2 separate regions of the Homo sapiens genome follow, and region 1 is linked to region 2. The links are contacts of gene promoters, found by promoter capture Hi-C in human tissues and cell types (Jung and others, 2019). All regions are on one chromosome and are shown on one strand. Each heading gives the region's core, a stretch centred on a gene start or on the middle of the fragment in contact. The rest is flanking DNA. Distances are from core to core; before and after follow the strand shown.

Region 1 (4,981 bases), core at 862-3,361, 270 kb before region 2:
ATAGTGTGTGACGAGTTACATTTTACATCACAGTCCAGGTATAGTCAATTTGCAAAATGGAAATATTGTGGTGGCAATGTTCCTTCGAAGAGTTAGAGCTATCACAGAAATAAAACTTCATATAAGCATTTATTGTTATAATGCCAAGAGTTGATTCTTGATTTTTACAGAACTTTCTCCAAAAAATATTCTACCATTCCTTTTACAGTACAGGCTCAAGTCTTGGCATATTCAATAGACTAGCCAATCCAATTCTAACCGTTTTTATTCAGTGTGGTTCCTGAGAATAATTTGATAGACCTACTAGGGGAGATCCTATCACACTTACAGTATTCTAAGACCTTCTTTTGCACTACAGGTTATCAAATGGCCTTCCTATTAACAAAGGTTCAAACCACACCATCAAATGGTTCAAACCACATAACCCCTTGTCTTAGGAGTTAAGCTAGCTTCCTAACCCTTCCTTGCAGTGGTTAACTCCACTGAGGAGCTTTCTATCAGCAATAATAGCTTCAAGGTGGGAAATAAAAAATGGAGAGTGTTTAAATTGTTAATGGGTTTCATGTTCTTGTCACTGTTGAGGGTTTGTTCCCTTTTATAAACTCATAGTTTTTGGTTGACATTGCTTTTATGCGAGCCATCAGCCAGTTGGTGATGGTGTTGCTGTGTTAGACCATTACTGCCGGATTGTATTTGCAGTAAAGAAGGAGAATGGAGGCTGTAAATCTGTAACTGGAGATTTAGGGCTCTGTTACTCTGCAGTTTAGGCCCATGTGCTGGGGAGTCCATTCTCCTCCGGCAGAATTATACCCTGAAAACATGCCTTTCTAGGCACACTGATCAACGACGTTCATTCCCTGGGCTACCAAGGCACTTAATACAGCTAATTCAGTTAAAGAAGCCCGAGGGGTGAGGTGGATGAGCCTCTTTCCCTGCTGGAAGCCAGATGCCAGGCAGGTTAGTGATATTGCTTTATCCCTTCCCCCAGGTAAAGCTTCCAGGAGAAGCAGTTACTGCAAACGCAGAGAAAAATAATAAGAAAATGCTTCTAGTGTTGTTGGACTCAGTTCTCCTTCAAGCAGGAAATGCTGTCTTAACTCAACCTCATTAACCCCTTTGATACTAAGCCCATTATCAGGAATATTCAGGAAGCACATTCTTTCAGAATTCAGGATGTGTCAGGAGCCTTGATATCTTGACATCATTGTACAAAACTACCAGCAAAGAATGGAAAGTAAGAGAATAAGTGCTTTTGGGACAGGTAACTAAAAATGGAAAAAACTCCCAGTTTGGAAGATTATATCTGTTACTGCTGGGTTCAGAAATATTTTGAAAAGACACCAGAATTAAGTATATTTAGAATCACTTTATCAATCATGTATCATTTCTACTATTAGATGTTTTATAGTGAAAAGAATGTTGGAATGTTTCTTTGGCTGGTGAAAGTTTTAAGCATGGTTTTAGATCTGTTTTGTTTTGCTTTGTTAGGCCTTCCCCGAGAGAGGAAGAGTATTAAATATAGACTTATCTGCATGATCCATGTGAGGCATCTGGGTCTGCTTTTTGTGTCAGCTGAGGCACAAATGTGCATGATTTAACCATACAACTATTGAACTAGCATTGGCCTATTAAGACTTCAGATGATCTGTTCATGAGCTGTCAGCCCAAATTGAGCTTGAAGCCTGCTGTAAAAGATCTAATTTTCATAATTATCCAGAACCTTCACACCCTGCTTCCCTTCAGTACCACCCACCTCCACACATGCACACAGAGGAGTAAACACATACATATGGACACAGAGACACAGGGCAGCACTGTCCCTGGAGATTCATCAGGCCTCTTGCCCGAAAATGCAGAGTTCATCCAGGGGTCAGAACTGGCTTTGACTTCCTGTTTGAGGAGCCCCATGTGTGGTGTTCCAGCATTGCTAGAGGCTAGTGATGACTAAGTAACCTTTTCACACTATAGCCTCCCACCAAGAAACAAGGTCCCTTATGATCTTGGACCCAGAGTGATTAGGGCACAACAAATATCTTTTTAATATATAAGGTGGAACTAATGCCAGTAGAAATAGCACTTTGCTGTCTCATGGCCTCACATTTATAAAAAGAGGATAGAGCTGTTGTCTTTGAAGATGAAGAATTTTAAAGGCAACCTGATTTAGTCTCAGAGTACACTAGGGACTTTCATCGTTTAGTAGTTGCTTAAGGCTAACTTTGAGCTTTACCTGACCCAAGTCTTCAAAGGAAGCCATCATACTATGTGTGGAGTTCAGCTGGTAATATCTTTCTAGGTAATCTGGATTGTGAACGAGTGGGAACAGGCAGCACTTTCAGGTTTAACTCTTTGCAGCACTGGGATAACTGGCACATGCTTCAAGGATTAGGTCATTCTGATGTCCCTCCAGTAATTCCACTGGAACAACACTGCACAATAAACCATTTGGTTTCTGGACATATATTGCCCATGTGTGAAGGGTGGACAGGCAGCACTTTACTAGGTTCTTCTCATACAACCTCAGGTTTTTGAGGCTGCTGAGGTTTAAATCCCTTGTCTGAATATGGGACAACTGTATTTCTATACTGGTTGTCGATTGTCTTTGCCCTCAGAGGGCATTTGCTGCAACTCAGGGTTCTACAGTTAGAATAAAAGGAGTTATTTCCTGTCTTCACTGCTTTTTTGCTTTTTTTTATTTTTTTATCATGAGTGGAGACTGAGTACATTACTCAAACCTTGGCTTTTCCCTGAGGTCCGTTGTTTACAGAGAGACATTTGGGTCCCTGGGGCTCACTCCCATAAAATCTTATTATCATATATTTCAAGGCATAAACTTCAGTTGTCAGCTCAGGAGCAGTTCTGAAAGCACTGGCTGCTCTTGTTTTTCTTCTCCTTTACTCTGGTTTATTTTTCTTGCAGCTTTGGCTTTTTTTTTTCCCTTCTCCCTCATATCTAGCAATGCTCAATTCCAAGCTGGCTCGCTCCTTATTCCACTAATTAGACAAGAAGTCCAGAGAGGCCATTATTAGATTCTGAGAATCTTTATCAGAGCCCATTATGGCCTTAAATACTGCACAAACATTTTACTAACTGAATCCATGAACATTTCAGCTGATCCACCTTTGGTCTTTAACATCTACCTTCTTTTGTACCTATAGAGTTATGTTACTGATGATAGAGGTTCTCAACAGCTTATTTTTCTTTGTATTAATTTTCTTAGAGGCCATGATTCAAGTTCATTCTCTCTCTCTCTCTCTCTCTCTCTCTGTCTCTCTCTCTCTCTCTCTCATTCTAATTACTGTTGGTGGGGGTGGAGGGGGTCTGAGAAGCCTGCTTTTCCTTGGTGAGATACGTGTGAGTATGTGTAATGTCATATGTGTTAATGTCACCAGTGAGTAGGATTCATGGTTGCCTGTTTTTCTCTCATTTTCTTTACAGAGCCAGGGATTATTTGTATGGACCAATGGTCTCAGTTTTCTTTCAATGGAAGAATAATTCTGCATTATAATATAGTAACTGCAAAAGAAAGCTTTTTCTATTTCACTCTTTTCTTTCTTAATTCACTGTCTAGTGAGTTTCTGATTGACTCACAGACCAATTAAAGTAAAATTTAATGGAAGAATAGATTAACTCCCTGAGGTTTCCCTACCATCCATCACATTTTTATAGCAGGAGCTGTGAGGAAGCTCATAACTTCATGCTGTGAATGTGATAATAAAGAGGGCACAGAGAGGATTCCGATTTACTGCCAGGCTGATGTTCGCCAGGACAGAATTTACTGCCCAATCCCCTTCCCCTTTTTATTCAGGAGGAGGTCACTAGATCTGCCCTCAGCCTGGGTCTGAGATACTGAAGGGCAGATTGTCAAGTCGAAATTCTTTCCCTTTAATTGGGCTGGTGGTGGTGCGGAATGTGAATTTCACTGTCCAGAGATGGTTATTGTGTTAAATTCATTTCTGTCTTCAGGAAGCTGTGGTCACCCCAAGTGTTCATATTTTTAAAGGGTGCATTTGATTTGTTATGATTCATATAGAAAATCAGAAGTAAGGCCAGATATTTCTGTTTTCAAGTCACTAAGTCATTGTCTTTTATTTATAAGCTTTTTCAAATAACTAAAGATACCTGTCTCTACATCTTCATAGTCAACATTAATAATGTCTTTTTCTGGGCATCTTTCATTTGAAGATCTCAAAAAGTACTTTATAACCATTATTTTGGTCTTTCTGACAGGGCCAAAATAACCTACTAGCCTTCCAAACATTTCGCCAGTTCACTGTTTCTCTGAGTCATCTTAAAAATAAAGTGTGACAAGGATCACAATATAATAGTAGTCATGTGATGGAGCTCCATATCCATGCCTAAGATTAATTTTGTGCACTTATTACAATTTTTTACTTCATGAAGCAAAGTCTGTTTTTTAGGCCTTGACTATTTAAACCTATCTCAACTGGGCGCGGTGGCTCATACCTGTAATCCCAATACTTTGGGAGGCTGAGGTGGGAGGATTGCTTGAGCCCAGGAGTTCGAGACCATCCTGTGCAACATAGGGAGACTGCTGGGCATGGTGGCACACGCCTGTGGTCCCAGCTACTCAGGAGGTTGAGATGAAAGGATTGCTTGAGCCTGGGAGGTTGAGGCTACAGTGAGCTGTGATCATCCACTGTACTCCAGCTTGGGCCACAGAATGAGACCCTGTCTCAAAAAAAAACTCAAAATAAATAAATAAACAAACTTATGTCAAGTTTCATGACTACATGAAAGATAATCTTTTTGTCCCCAGAAGCTTGGTGAGATAGAAATCAATATTTTAAAATCATATTCATCTGATTGTCCTTGAAGTCAAAGCCTGTAATCCCAGCATTTTGGGAGGCTGAGACGGGTGGATCACCTGAGGCCAGGAGTTCGAGACCAGCCTGGCCAATATGGTGAAACCATGTCTCTACTAAAAATACAAAAATCAGCCGGATGTGGTGGCATGCGCCTG
Region 2 (5,577 bases), core at 295-2,794:
TGGTCATTTTATTGGTCCTTTTCATGACCAAGAACAAGCTCACACACCAAGACTGCACATGGGCTGAAGGGCCAGTACAAATCTGAAGGGAGGCTAAAGAAGCTTCCCCCGTGACCACCAAGCAGGACTGACTAAATGGCACTACAGAGTGGTGAATTCAGAACTTGAACTCTGCCAACCGGTCAAACGCTGGGGTCCCACACTAGTATCAGTTATACTCTCTCTGCTATATTCCTGTAAAGTTTTCAGAAAGAAAAATTCTGTTGATGTCACAGAACTAGAAGCAACGGACTGGGGTAGTCAAACAGACACCATCTTAAGGACAAGATTGGCATCAAATCCATGAATCCAATAAGCATTTTAAAATGCCAGGAGCTGTGTGATCAGATGAAGAGGCCTTCCCTGACTATGAACTGGGGAGGAAGTATGTAAGCCCCATACAGACAACCTGGAGATGGCCTGGACACTAAAAGGTTTTCATTTGCAACTGGGTCTTAGGTCCCTCTTCCTCCTAAAATCAAGGGGGAGGTGGAAGCTTTTTAAATGAGGTTTTTTTTTTTTTTCCTGGCATAATGCAAAAGGCATGGACAGTGGGTCAGACAGACTTAAGTTCCAATTCAGATGTGCCACTTAGTGGTTGACTGTTTTTTGTCTTCTTTTTGAGATGGAGTTTCGCTCTCGTTGCCCAGGCTGGAGTGCAATAGTGAGATCTCTGCTCACCGCAACCTCTGCCTCCGGGGTTCAAGCAATTCTCCCACCTCAGCCTCCCGAGTAGCTGGGATTACAGGCATGTGCTCCCATGCCCGGCTACTTTTTATTTTTATTTTTTTGTATTTTTAGTCATGGAGACATGGAGACAAGGTTTCTCCATGTTGGTCAGGCTGGTCTCGAACTCCTGACCTCAGGTGATTCGCCCACCTCGGCCTCCCAAAGTGCTGGGATTACAGGCATGAGCCACCGCGCCCGGCAGTGGTTGACTGTTTTTAAAGCGAGTCATTTATCCTGTCCCTGAATGATACGATAACATATGTTATTAAAGGAGAAAACGCAGGTCAAACAGACTGTACATATGGTTCGTTCCCGCTGCTATCAGGGAAGCAGGTCTGGCCACAGATGGGGCATAGAACGAGGCCAGTGGTCAGCATCTCGACTCAGGCTTTCAGGGGTCAGAGCTCCCGGCTATTGGACACAGGGGGCAACGCACAGGCCTCCCCCCGACAGCCAGCTGCGCGGTGGCGCCCCCTCCTACCGAGCAGCTTGCTGGTCTGGATGTCGATGGGCACGTGCTGATGGTCCTGGCGGGAAACACGGTGAGGAGGGGGGCGTGAGCGCGGAGAGAGGACGTACCACTCGCGCGCTCATTTCAACGTCCCAACCACCACCCTGCAGGGCCAGAACGGGGCCAGAGCGATGGGCTGGGTTGAGCCGCTTCCGGAGGGAGACCGGAGACACAGGTTAGGGGTCCGCGGCCAGTCCCCAGCACACCCAGCTCCTGTCCCCACACCTCCATCTTTCCTCCACTTCCGCTTCAGGCTGGAGACTGTGGCCCGCCCCGCCCTACCACCAATCCAGTGGCGTTGTGGCCGAGCCTCCGTTTAGACACAAACGGGCATCCTTCGGCCACGTCGCCGCCTTCCGTACAGCCAATCAGGGTTTACGCTCCACTCAGGCCTCAAGCCCCGCCCACCCCAGGCTCCGAATGGCTGAGCTCGGGAGGGGCGGGAGAATGGAGACAGCCAATTGGAGACGCGAGGCGGGCTCAGGGCAGGGGACGGGAGGGGGTGCGCTGCAGCGGCCGTGGGATTGCGACAGGCGGCGCTCGAGAGCCCAGCCTGGCAGCCGCTTCCCCTGGCGGGCACTGGGTCTTCTCCACGCAGATTGAGACGTCTGCTGGCGGGGTCCTAGCGCCGATCTGGGAGGCCGTTGCAAATACCTTCTTCCCTCCTTGCGTCGCTTTACCATCCAGAGCAGTGTGCAGGTCTCTTGTGGCACTTGTCATGCTTTGCCTCCTCATTCAGTTTCTCTAATAGACATGGTTGAGCACCTGCAACGTGTTGGGCGATTAGGGCAGGGAAGGGGAAGGAAGAGAGTCGGTGAGACGTCCCAAAGAGAACACCTACATTGAGTCTAAACGAAGAGCTGAAGATAGCTGGGTGATGTGGGAAGAGGAGTTTTAGGTGGAGGAGACTACACAGACAAAGCTTAGGTGGCCACAAACTGCAAGAGGGGTGCAAGCAACAACAGGCAGGCAGGACGGGCAACGTAATTTGTGAGGTCCAGTGCAAAATGGAAATGCACAGCTGCTTGTTACAAAATGATGAAGAATTTCAAGATGAAGTCGGCTCCGCGGGCAGGCCAACCTCTATACCGTAGATGGTTTGAGGCAGCGAGTGGCTAGAGGAGAGGCTGTAAGGGTGGAAAGGCCATATCAAAGGGAGACTTATTAAGGAACTTGGACTTCATCCCTTCAGACAGAGGAATCACAGAAGGGGTTTGAGGCAGGGAGGAACCTGTACAGATAGGCTGCTGGGATGATGGATGCATGGGAGATAAGACTGGGGACAAGGAGGCTGGAAGGAGGTTGTTATCGAGGGATTATAGCCTGAGCTGGGACACAAGATATGAGGAGGAAGGGGAAGGGCTGGATCTGAGGAATATTTAGGAGGAAAATGTATAGGACTTGGCAATTGATTGGCTGTTTGGGTGGAGGAGAGAGACACTAAGGATGACACCTAGGTGATTAGGTGGGAACCACCACCTGAGACAGGGATGCAGGATGCTGAGCAGGTGTTGGGGAGGAGGGGGTCTAGCTTTGAACCTAGTCTGGCAATGCTGGGAGACCCCCAGATGGAAAGTGTGCAGAAGGCACTTGGGTCTATAATTTTGGAGTTCGAGGGAGTTGTCGGGGCTGGAGATACAGCTTGGAGAGTCACAAGCTGGCTAATCTGTGGTCCGAGTGGTGGCTGAAGCTAAGGGAGAGTCTGAGATTGGCCAAGAAGTGGGTAGAGTAAGGAGGGAGGGTAGGCTGAGGCCAGATCCCCCAGGATCTCACAGCGCTGGGTATGCCTTTTCTTTTTTTTTTTTTTTTTTTTTTTTTTTTGAGACGGAGTCACGCTCTGTCGCCCGGGCTGGAGTGCAGTGACACGATCTCGGCTCACTGCAAGCTCTGCCTCCTGGGTTCACGCCATTCTCCTGCCTCAGCCTCCCCAGTAGCTGGGACTACAGGCGCCCGCCACCACGCCCGGCTAATTTTTTTGTATTTTTAGTAGAGACGAGGTCTCACCGTGTTAGCCAGGATGGTCTCGATTTCCTGACCTCGTGATTCTCCCGCTTCAGCCTCCTAAAGTGCTGGGATTACAGGCGTGAGCCACCGCGCCCGGCCCTGGGTATGCCATTTCTAAATATTCCTTCCCCAGCTCCTGTTCACCACAGCACAACACTTGAGGCTTAGTAAATTTTTGATTGAAATGCATAGTGTGATACAGCAGCAGGAAGACCTAGATTCTGCCCAGTGAGGTCTTGGACCATTTCTATAACCTATCTGATAGCCACAGTTTCCCCACATGGAGATAACAGCTATCCTATCTCAGGGTATTTCTGTTTAGAGGCTTAAATAAACACACTAGTAACTCATGACAGTTTACAACATACTGTGGCTGTATTTCTCATGCTTTGTAAACTCTCCCTATATGAAATATCATATATGGGCCAGGCGCGGTGGCTCACGCCTGTAATCCCAGCACTTTTGGGAGGCTGAGACAGGCGGATCACCTAAGGTCAGGAATTCGAGACCAGCCTGATCAACATGGTGAAATCCCATCTCTGAAAAAAACAAAAAACACGCTGGGCACGGTGGCTCACGCCTGTAATCTCGGCACTTTGGGATGCTGAGGCGGGTGGATCACGAGGTCAGGAGTTTGAGACCAGCCTGATCAACATGGTGAAACCCTGTCTCTACTAAAAATACAAAAATTAGCTGGGCGTGGTGGCGTACGCCTGTAATCCCAGCTACTCAGGAAGCTGAGGCAGGAGAACTGCTTGAACCCGGGAGGCGGAGGTTGCAGTGAGCCGATATTGCGCCACCGCACTCCAGCCTGGGCGACAGAGTGAGACTCCATCTCAAAAACAAAACAAAACAAAAAACAAACAAACAAACAAAAACAAAAACCATCCCGGCGTGGTGGTGCATGCCTGCAGTCCCAGCTACTCAGCTACTCGGGAGGCTGCGGCGGAAGAATCACCTGAACTTGGGAGGCGGAGGTTGCAATGAGCCCAGATTGCGCCACTGCACTCCAGCCTGGGCAACAGAGTGAGACTCCATCTCAAAATATATATATATGTCATATATGATCATTATTATTATAGAACGGATTGAAAAACTGCTCTGAAAATGGCTCATAGAGCTGAATTAAGGGCCTTTTCAGGGATCTTTCATGGGAATTTGGCTCCCATCTGAGTCAGCCTGACTCAGACTGTAGGAATTGCTCAGGCTCCTCCATGATTAAACACACACTTAACTGGGCCCCAACTATGTGCTCGGGGCTGTCTGGGACATCTCAAGAGCAAGGCACTGCCCTGCCCTCAAGGTGTATCTATCTCTCTTCCTTGAACCAACAGGCTGGGCAGAACAGGACAGGGTGGGTCTGGAAGACCCAGCCCAGGTGAGTTGATGGAAGCAGGGACCACCAGCACTTCAGCCCCACCCACAGCTCCCCAAGGTGACTCACGTGGAGCAGAAGGATGTTTGAGAACAGTTCTGCCCAGCTACTGACTCCAGGGAGGCTGTCCCAAAGCCAGAGGCTCTGGGAGAGAACCTGCCTCTGCTGACTGCAGAGGCTCTGGGGGAGAGCCTGCCAAAGGCACATGCTTCTGTGTTCCCAAAGAGTGTAGGAGCATGGGCCTTTGGCGGGTTTCTGCACTTTTCCAAGGCCACAGGGAACTTCAGGGTCTGTGGGTAGATAAGCACATAATTGGTCTGGCATCCAGGGCATCGACTCTATCTCCTTCAGGAGACTTTAGTCATCGGGGCTCCCAGCAGCTAGAAGGAGGCAGAGAGAGGTATGGTAGGTTTCTGACCAGGAATCTCTCAGTTCTCTGCTGATTTAGCAGATGGGACCCTGGGAGAGGGGCAGCACATGTAGAGAGGTGAGGAGGATATACCAGGGCTGCACCAGCTTTGGACAAGGAAGCACAGAGCCCCGAGGCACCGTGTAGGCAGCCTACCTTGCCATCCATTATTGTTGTTGTTAGCTTGCTTATTACGTGATAAACATGCCCACGTGCCAGTGTAGATCTAAATGTTTTACAAGCCTTATCTAATGTGATTCTTCTAACAACCTTATAATGTGGGTACCATCATTAACCAGATTTTAAAGGCAAGGAAGCCAAAGATTAATTACGTAACATGTTGAAAATCATCCAGTGGGCCAGGTGCGGTGGCTCACGTCTGTAATCCCAACACTTTAGAAGGCCAAGGTGGGTGGATCACAAGGTCAAGAGATCGAGACCATCCTGGCTAACACGGTGAAACCCCGTCTCTACTAAAAACACAAAAAATTAGCTGGGTGTGGTGGCACG

Evidence for each region. Contacts are between HindIII fragments. The study calls those that stand out against the background at their distance.
Region 1: a fragment that was not itself captured here is called in contact with the fragment with the promoter of CDK5RAP3 in region 2 in 2 of the 25 tissues and cell types used here (adrenal gland and lymphoblastoid cells).

The regions. Positions count from the first base shown.
Region 1 is chr17:48,238,134-48,243,114 of GRCh38, reverse strand. The region is part of intron 4 of SKAP1 (src kinase associated phosphoprotein 1); the gene reads left to right. Among named protein-coding and RNA genes, the nearest start is that of SKAP1-AS2, 54 kb to the left of the region's middle. The HindIII fragment of the contact is 4,655 bases long and covers 1-4,438 here.
Region 2 is chr17:47,967,080-47,972,656 of GRCh38, reverse strand. CDK5RAP3 (CDK5 regulatory subunit associated protein 3) reads right to left here and starts at 1,544. Exons shown (of 14, transcript NM_176096.3): 1 at 1,505-1,544; 2 at 1,250-1,295. The coding sequence starts at 1,510. RefSeq lists an enhancer at 555-1,182 and a silencer at 1,604-1,893. The HindIII fragment of the contact is 4,856 bases long and covers 1,369-5,577 here.